Linked DNA regions of Homo sapiens: region 1 is linked to region 2. The links are contacts of gene promoters, found by promoter capture Hi-C in blood cells and fetal thymus (Javierre and others, 2016). All regions are on one chromosome and are shown on one strand. Each heading gives the region's core, a stretch centred on a gene start or on the middle of the fragment in contact. The rest is flanking DNA. Distances are from core to core; before and after follow the strand shown. Region 1 overlaps SLMAP (sarcolemma associated protein). Region 2 holds the start of ASB14 (ankyrin repeat and SOCS box containing 14).

What was found. The method cuts DNA at HindIII sites, captures the fragments that hold promoters and counts their contacts. A CHiCAGO score of 5 or more calls a contact.
Region 1: a fragment that was not itself captured here is called in contact with the fragment with the promoter of ASB14 in region 2 in 1 of 17 cell types (total B cells); the score reaches 5.3 in total B cells.

Annotation. Positions count from the first base shown.
Region 1 is chr3:57,792,645-57,797,709 of GRCh38, reverse strand. All of the region lies in intron 2 of SLMAP (sarcolemma associated protein), which reads right to left. Among named protein-coding and RNA genes, the nearest start is that of SLMAP, 39 kb to the right of the region's middle. The HindIII fragment of the contact is 168 bases long and covers 2,813-2,980 here.
Region 2 is chr3:57,290,880-57,295,800 of GRCh38, reverse strand. It overlaps ASB14 (ankyrin repeat and SOCS box containing 14), which reads left to right and starts at 3,116. Exons shown (of 11, transcript NM_001142733.3): 1 at 3,116-3,168; 2 at 3,697-3,889. The coding sequence starts at 3,768. It overlaps DNAH12 (dynein axonemal heavy chain 12), which reads left to right. Exons shown (of 74, transcript NM_001366028.2): 73 at 209-276; 74 at 1,830-2,101. The coding sequence ends at 2,020. It overlaps LOC124909384 (a long non-coding RNA gene), which reads right to left and starts at 3,010. Exons shown (of 2, transcript XR_007095923.1): 1 at 2,409-3,010. The HindIII fragment of the contact is 5,614 bases long and covers 1-3,515 here.

The DNA.
Region 1 (5,065 bases), core at 1,647-4,146, 500 kb before region 2:
ACATTATGAGGCTTTTCATTTAATCTTTTTCAAAAATAATTTATTTTGTTTTTCCAAGTATAAAATACTTATTGAAATCAGAAGAATATAATAAAGTACAGAAGAAAATTGAAATAACACCTCCCAGCTTCCAAGAATAACCACATCAACAGTTTAACATATTGCTTTATATGCATTACACGACTAACATTCCACTCTCCTGCCTCGTACTTTTTTTTTTTTTTTGAGATGGAGTTTCATTCTTGTTGCCCAGGCTGGAGTGCAATGGCGCGATCTTAGCTCACTGCAACCTCCACCTCCCGGGTTCAAGCGATTCTCCTGCCTCAGGCTCCCAAGTAGATGGGATTACAGGCACCCACCACCACGCCTGGCTAATTTTGTATTTTTAGTAGAGACAAGGTTTCTCCATGTTGGTCAGGCTGGTCTCAAACTCCCGACCTCAGGTGATCCGCCTGCCTCAGCCTCCCAAAGTACTGGGATTACAGGCGTGAGCCACCACACCTGGCTTTTTTTTTTTTTTTTTTTTAAGATACAGGATCTCACTCTGTCACCCAGGCTGGAGGGCAGTGGTACAATCATAGCTCACTGTAACCTCCAACTCCTGGGCTCAAGTGATCCTTCTGCTTCAGCCTCCCATGTAGCTGGGACTATAGGCACATGCCACCATGCTCGACTAATTTAAAAAAAAAAATTATAGAGACGGGGGTCCTACTACATTGCCCAAGCTGGTCTCGAACTCCTGGCCTCAAGTGATCTCTCACCTCGGTCTCCCAAAGTGCTGAGATTACAGACATGAGCCACCATATCCAGCCCCTTGCCTTGAATTTTTAAAAAATTTTAGAGACATATTCTACATATAGTTGCATTTTTGACATTTTCACTGATATCATCCCAAGGCATTAAGTATTTTTGACAATGTGACTTAATGGTTATATGACATTTCATTAATTTATTTAACCATATGTCTACTGACTATATGTGGTTAATTTTATAATCAGTCTCTGTGATGAAACTGTTATACACACATCTTTATGTAACATCTCTGATAATGTTCTTAGATTAGGTCTCTAGAAATGACATTACTGTGACTTAAAGGGTATAATAATAGCTAATACTTATATGGTGACTGTTGCCAAATCGTTCTAAGTGCTTTGCAGATATTCTAAGTGCTTTATAGCTATATCCTAGCTAATCCTTGCAACAATCCTATGAGGGAGGAAACGAAGGTCCAGAGAGAACAAGTGACTTGTCCAAAATCAGCCAGGAAGTGACACAGCCACGATTCACACCCAGGTAGTCAGGCTCCACGATCCATGCTCTTAATTACCAGGCTAGACTATCCTAATTCCACACTCTTTCAACCACATCATGCAAAGTCTCCTGGAAGTTTATTACAAATACACAAAACAGCTGAGGGACTTTTATTTTACTAAACATCCCAGAAGACTCTACCGTTTGAAAACTACTATTCTGATCTTAACAACAACAAAAAAGAGCAGAACACTTAATAAAACTCCTCCCATAAAACCTTTGATAGTTATATTGGTGGATGTTTTAAATATAGAAGGGAGAGCCAAGTAAGAGAGTACTCAAAATGGTTAAAATACATGTTTATGGCCTTAAATTAGGCAATGGCTTCTTAGAAATGACACCAAAGGCACAAGTGACAACATGAATTTAAAATGTTTTAATTACTAAAAATTACTTATAAAAATAAAAATAGATAAATTGGACTTCATCAAAATTAAAAATATTTACACTTTAAAAGATACTATCAGGACAAATACTATATGATTCCACTTATTTGAAGCACCTAGAATAGGCAAAGTCCTAGAGACAGAAAGTAGAATAGAGGTTACTAGAGGCTGGGGGAGGGGGAAGGGAGAGTTATTATTTAATGGGTACAGTGTTTCTGTTTGGGATGATGAAAAAGTTCTGGAAATGGAGGTTATAGTTACACAACACTGTGAATGTACTTAATGCCACTGAAATGTACACTTAAAATTGTACAAATGGTACATTTTATGTTATGCATATTTTACCACAATCAACACCACCAAGACAACCCACAGAATGAGAGAAAATACTTACAAATCATTTATCTGATACAGGAATTATATCCTGAATATACAACTGATAATCCAATTTTTCTTTTCTTTTTTTCTTTTTCTGAGACGCAGTCTCTCTCTGTTGCCCAGGCTGGAGTGCAGTGGCGTGATCTCAGCTCACTGCAACCTCTGCCTGCCAGGCTCAAGCAATTCTCCTGCCTCAGCCTCCCAAATAGCTGGGACTACAGGTGTGCGCCACCATGCCCAGTTAATCTTTTGTATTTTTAGTAGAGACGGGGTTTCACGACGCTGGCCAGGCTGGTCTCAAACTCCTGAACTCGTGATCCGCCCGCCTCAGCTTCCCACAGTGCTGGGATTACAGGCGTGAGCCACCATGCACGGCCCCAATTTTTCAAAAGGATATAAATCAATATTTCTCCAAAAAAGATACATACAAATGTCTGATAAGGACATGAAATGATGCTCAATTATTAGTCATTAGATTATCAGATTATTAGTCATTAGAGAAATACAAATCAAAATCATTAGATACCATTTCCTACCCACCTGATGGCTACAAAAAAGACCAACATTAAGAAGTATTGACCAGGAAGTGGAGAAATTCCTGGTGGGAATGGTATAGGCACCTTGGAAAACATTTTGGCAGTTCCTCAAGATGTTAAACACGGAGTTACCATATTACCTAACAATTCAATTCCAAGGTATGTACCCAAGACAGCTGAACACAAATTCACACAAAAGCTTGTACACAAACTTTCATAGTGACATTATTCATAACAGCCGAAAGTAGAAAACAGAAACTCAAATGTCCATCAGCTGATTAATGGACAAATAAAATGTGGTAGCTATCTCTAGAATGGAATTTTATCCAGCAATGCAATACCTACATAAACTAGAACTTAGATGAAGCTTGAAAATGCTAAATGAAAGAAGCCAGACACAAAAGACCACATGTTGTATCATTCCATCGATATAAAATGTCCAGATAGGCAAATCTAGAGAGACAGAAAGCAGATTAGTGGTTGCCAGGGTCTGAAGGGAGGAGAAAATGGGGGGGTGACTGCTAATGAATACAAACTTTCTTTTGGGAGTGATGAAAATGTTCTAGAATTAGGTAGCGGTAATAGATGCGCAATTTTGTGAATATACTAAAGACCACTATAGTGTACACTTAAAAAGTAAAAACAAACTAAAATGGTTGAGAAATTCATAAAAAAACATAAATTTTGAAACGAAGTGCTTATAAGTGTTAATATAAGACTGTAAGTATGTGACTTTTGAAAGAGACTCAGGACAGTAAAAGCCAAAGGATAAAGACAAAGTCTTTGTGGTAACTACAGACCATGGAGACAAAGATAGAAATGCCAAAACTGTCAGAAAATTAAGAACCAGGAGAGTATAGCGTACGAACAGAATTTTGGAAAGTTCTATTAAAATGCACACTAAAGAAGTTAGGAAAGTGAGTTTCAGAATAGGGAGAAAATAAAAAGAACAGCCACCAAAACTAAATCACTGAATGACTCATCTAAAAAGTTTCCTGATGACTTTAGAAAACTGTTTTTTTGTTTTTAAGAAAGGGTCTCTCTCTCTCTGTTACCCAGGCTGGAATACAGTAACTCGAACACATCTCACGGCAGTCCTAACCTCTTGAGCTAAAATGATCCTCCCATCTCAGAGTCCTGAGTAGCTGGGGCTACAGGAATACACCATCACACCCAGCAGGATTTTTTTTTTTTTTTTTTTTAAGAAAGATAGTTCTCACTTTGTTGCCCAGGCTGATCTTGAACTTCTGGGCTGAAGTGATCCTCCCACCTCAACCTCCCAAAGTGTTGGGATTACAGGCATGAGTCACCGCACCAGCTTTAAAAAATAAGCGAAGGTTTACCCATCAGAAAAGAACAAGGTTAAGAAGGTACATATATTATCTAAATTCATAAAACTGAAGGAGATATGGGCAGATTTCACCAAATGCTAGTAGTTGAGGACAAAACTAAAATTTAACCAGAATACTCTGGAAATGTATGAAAGTATTGCTATTACACAGTAAATTAATAGGACAAATTAATTATGCTGGATTTGCTGCCAATATTTCAGAAGCACTCTCATTTGTTCTAAATAGGCTGAGGTAATGATGAAAGATAGATGATGGTATACTGAACACTAGAATGTCAGCTCCATACGGACAGAAACTTTTATCAATTATAGAATTGAGCTCAGCACACAAGAAGTATTCAGTGTTAGCTAAATGAATCAACAGCACTTTGAAATCTATAAAATATCATACATGTTTTAGAAATTCATATCTAGAAATGAAATGTTAATGAATTTAAAAAGTCATTGATATCTGAGATCTAAAACTAGAGTTTCAGGGAAGAAAAGAATTAACCTCAAAAACTGGAAGGACATAAGAAGCCTACAGGGTGTAGGGGTGTAAGCCTGTAGTCCTAACTACTTGGAGGCTGACATGGGAGGATCACTTGAGCTCAAGAGGATTTTTTGGGTTTTCTTATTGAGACAGGGTGTCACCTGGGCAGAGTGCAGTAGCATGATCTTGGCTCACTGCAACTTCGGCCTCCTGGACTCAAGTGATCCTCCCACTTCAGCCTCCCAAGTTGCTGGGACCACAGGTGCGCACCACAACGCTCAGCTGATTTTTGCAATTTTTTGGTAGAGATGGGGTTTTGCCATGTTGCCCAGGCTGGTCTCAACTCCTGAGCTCAAGCAATCCACCCCGCTTAGCCTCTCAAAGTGCTGGGATTACAGGTGTGAGTCACCGCACCCGGTCAAATCCAGGAGTTTGAGTTCAGCCTGGGAAACATAATGTAGCCCAGACTTTTTACATTTCTTTAAAAAAAATTAAAAAGCCCACATAACTTGCTTGTGTTGTCAAATGTTTAACATATTAATACATTTCCCATATTTTTTACTGTCAATATTATAAAAAATATAAATAAGTCCATACATTTCTAAAGAGTTAACGACTTAAATGGTACAAA
Region 2 (4,921 bases), core at 1,867-4,366:
TGTCCACTGTTTACCCTTTGCCTTTCCATCATTGTCTTTTGTTTCTCTCAATTCTTCATTGCCATTTTCTCATTTTCTTTTTTTACATTTCTTTTTCTCTATGCCTCTAGTCCTTTCTTTTAGTAAAAGCCAATATCTAAGTAGCAATCTGTTCTCAGAAGTGAATTTCATGTTATTTCTAATAATTTCTGTCAATTTCTCGTTACAGTGGATTGCTTGCTGAACAATATCCCAAACTTCTGTTTGACCTGATGCCCATCATATGGATAAAACCAAGTAAATATTCTCTCAACAAAATTTATTTGAAGTTTAGGGAGAATAAGGATGGATATTATACACTGCTCCCCAAAATAAGTTTTTGCTCAAACCTTTTAGGATCTAGCTCAATTATAATAAACATTAATAGAACATTTACATTAGAAATTATTATTATCTCTTTGTGTGTATGGCATTTATATTATTTTGGGAATACCATGCTGCTTTTTTATCGTAGCCTATGGGATATGTCATTCTTTTCAGCCCCTCCCCCCACTTCTACAAGGGGGTTCACAGATTGAACAGCTGCCCATCCATATTTTGATTCTGAATTCCCTTTACACATTGCTCAGAGGCACAAATTAGCTTGACACAGTCTCCCGCTAGTGACTAGCATTTTCTGGCTATAAGAAACTGCTAGGCCTAGGAGCCAGCCAGGTCCCCCAAGGCATAGATGTTGCTAGCCACATGGGGTGGGGGCCAATTTTGCCCCATTTAGGAAACTGCTTGCTCCTCCCCTGCTTCTGCCATCATCATCTTTCTACAAGTCTGGAAAAAAAAGTCTCATTCTTTTGTTTTCTCTTCCCTAACTTTTTAATTCTTAAATAACAACAATTTCTTAAAATATTTACTGATCACCCAGAATCACCATCCAACCTATCAAATATTCTCATTACGAATGTGGTTCAGTTATAACTATGAGAAACGTGACCTTAGTTTGGAAAGACTCTTAATATCTTATATCTGGCTTTTTGGGGATTGTATATAGTTTCTTTTCATGAATTGGTAAGAGTTGACATGTTTTTCTTATTATTTACCTGCTAAAAACAAATAGAAACGTCAGCTTCTTCTAATGTGTGGGTTTCTTGGATTAGAGCTCTAAGCAGTTGTATTTCTTCTTTTGAGTCTCCCCCACTACCTATACTGTATTTTATTCCTTCTTCCCTCCCTTCTCATTCTCCCCTCCCAAATCCTCTTGAGTTTTCTCATGCCTGCTAAGCGGTCAGAACTTTAAAGTCTATTCCTGTCTTCCACACCTAGAATCATGCACCATACGAAATACTTGCCTTGGGCTGGGCGCAGTGGCTCACGCCTGTAATCCCAGCACTTTGGGAGGCTGAGGCGGGCAGATCACGAGGTCAGGGGTTCAAGACCAGCCTGGCCAACATAGTGAAACCCCGTCTCTACTAAAAATACAAAAATTAGCAAGGCATGGTGGCAGGCACCTGTAGTCCCACCTACTCAGGAGGCTGAGACAAGAGAATCGCTTGAACCTGGGAGGCAGAGGTTGCAGTGAGCCGAGATTGTGCCACTGTACTCCAGCCTAGGTGACAGAGTGAGACTCAGTCTCCAAAAAAAAAAAAAAAAAGAAAAGAAAAGAAATACTTGCCTTGTTTCACAACCGTAATACTATATGTACTGTAAAAAAATATATATGCTGTAAAACCTTCATATATCACAATTATGATCTTAGATTTAGTTCTGGCCATTTTATTACAAGATAAATAGTTCTTTTCGTACCAATGGCTGTTTTTCCCTTTATCAAGTGAATATATTTCTTTTTTTTTTTCAAGCTCAAAAATCTCGGATTATAAAGTCGGATGCCTATGTCTGTCCCCTCTACAAGACAAGTGAACGTAAAGGAACTCTTTCCACTACGGGACATTCTACTAACTTTGTCATTGCAATGTTGTTAAAAACAGACCAACCTACTCGGCACTGGATCAAGCGCGGGGTTGCTTTGCTTTGTCAGTTGGATGACTAAATTGGACAAATTTATAAAACATCCAAAAGTTTAAAAAAAAAAAAACCTGTCCTACTTAAAATATATACATTATAAAACCAAGTGTTTTGGTGTTATTCTTTTAAATGATCTTTGCAAACACTCATTGCATTGTTCTCCTTTCTGAGGAGAACTTTTTGAAGTTTGATTGTATGTGAAAAATAGATTTGGGGGTTAAACGGTAACATTTAACAAATATCAGGAATTATCTCCTTCACAAATGTTAAGTCATTCCTTCAGCTTCAGTATAGTTTACTTTCCACTCTCCTACCTAAAGTAATTATACATAAATATTTCAAATACATAAATTAAGAAATTATAAATATGGAAAATATTAAAAGTTACCCAACTATACCTCTTTATTTCTTACCTCTAAGACATCGGTTCCATTTCTCACTGCATCCTTGTGACTAGGAAAGGAAACTCAAAGCTGCGAAGTTGGCCTGCAAAGGCAGTAGGATGGCTTGAGGGCAGTCCGAACTTCTACACCTGCAGTGACAGTGTGCTTCTCGGCATTTGCTTCATATTTAATTTGAAATGTCAAGTGGTCCCTTTGCTTTTTTTAGTGTATATTAACAATTTAAAAATATTTCAACAAAACAGAATTTTGATCAAAATTTTATCTTGTGTAGAGTGAATTCTTCCCTTAGGATTCCAAGGACACTGAAGGCCACAGTTCTGTAACCCAAGGAAAATGTAGTCACAGCTACCTAGTGAATCTAGTACATTGGGACAGTCACTTTGGATAATTGGGTCAGAGCAAAATGTTTGGGTTCTCTTAAGTGAAAAATTGATTGTGGTTTGCAGTGGCTATGTGCATGAATTCTCTTTGCATGGCCAACCCCCTGCAAAAGCATTTTATTCCAGGAATAAAATATTTAATCCTTTAAATTTGATGAATGTAGCACTGAAGAAAAGAGATCATGTTTCCAAAAAGAGCTAAACCACATGTAAAAAACAAGGAGAATGTGCCAAACTGTCTTATGATGAAGTATTTATAGTAAAGCTATTAATGGAATGGTCACTACAGGGGAGAGGAGAGCCTAAATATAAATGAAAATTCTGAGGCTTACATGTGTTAGTCCTTAACAGTGAAAACTTCACTGCTGTCCTAGAGGATAAAACAAAAGGTAAAAAGTCTTTGAAATGTGACCAAATGTATTCTATGCTAAAACTGACATTTTTCTTTTAAAACCATTTAGATATTGCCTAGTAAGATACATTTGTTTTTACTACTGCTGTATCCATGTTGTAATTATGAGAATACATTTGTTCCTATAACATGTTTATTTTTAATGTATATTAAGTAAAATATTATTTTCAGCATCACACTGTGTGTAGGAAAGATATTATTTTGGATGAGTGCTACAATCACTGTGAAAGACTCACAGCCAAGTTGAACAGATCAGAGTGTTGTCAGTGTTAGAGTGGCACTAACCGAAGTCTTATTTGAAAGGTGGTTTTTCCTGAATAAGCTTTAAGTCAATGGCTACTCATGGAAACTTCTAATTTTTGTTGAATCTGTGGCAGTCCACAAAACTTTTTTAAGTTTATAGAAATTTTTTAGTGAATATTTTGTTTCCTAAATTTTGTATATTTTTCATTGTTAATCCTACCAATTTTCTAGATTTCTGAATTTCATTTGTAATTTTAAGCAGTTGATCTCTTCACAACTGGAAAAATACTTTTAATTCACTCTGACTTTAAAGTAAACCTGTCCACGTTTCACATGGATAATTACACCAGCGATGAAGACATAGATGAAGACTTTGACACCCAGCTCATCATTCAACAGAGTTTGCAGGATATTTATAAGCCAGGAACAGCACAACATGCACCTAAGGATGAGAGGTAATGGTTTTCTCATCGGCAATATAGTATTAAGTGTTGTATTCAACAGCTGACACTTGTCATTAGCTTAACTCTAGTGTTGTGACAAAAACAGGAGGGTCAGAATCCAAGGAGCTGTCAATTAAATATCTGTAAGATATTATGCCTAACTAGACAGGAATAATCTGGAAATAATTCAGAATTTAATTAGGCAATAAAAATATCTGAAGGAGGTTAGCAGCAAATCTGGGTGAGGTGATACAGACTGGAAATCAGAAGAAAGAAAGGAGGATATGAAGGGCTAGAGAAAAACTAATACATCTTGTCTTTGGGAATTGAAGAAATGCATAAATCCAACCGGGACACATAGAAAGTTAGTTATCTTCAACCTTAGTAGGGTAGGTGGGGATGGGGTCCAGTCTTTGATCTACTCAAATCAAAAGGAGGAATTACATAAACTTGAACAAGGCTTCTGAAAGTGTAGATTCAGAGTTTTGTTGGACAACACTGAAAAAGGACCAGTGGGACCCTGTGTGGGGTGTAAGAAGAATCGTCCTGGATATGGCACACCTGCTCACACGCTCGCTGGCCAATCAGCAACCTTGGTCTCCTGAGGCAGTAACCATCATTTTTTCAGGGGTGATAACCCAGTTTACTTGGGATGGTAATCTCTATTTGCCTGCTGGATGTAAAACTAGAAAAATGTCTTTTAACCCCAAGAGATTTCATAACTAAATAGAGACAATGAAGTACATCAAACCTATATAGTATTTTTAAAATGTAACAAACCATGGAGTGATCACTATGTGTCATGTTATTTTAAGCACTTCATAAATACTAACTTTTAAATTCTAATTCTCATTACCTCTCTATGAGGTAGGTCCTATTATTATCCCTACTTAGAGAGGAGGAAAGTGAGGCACAGAAAAGTTAAGTGGCTTACCCAAGGTCACAGAACTAGTAAGTGAAGAGCAAGGCAGTCTGATTCTAAAGTCTGTGCTCTTAGCCACACACTATTCCTATACTTTTGTGTTCAATTTAGGATTAGTTTTT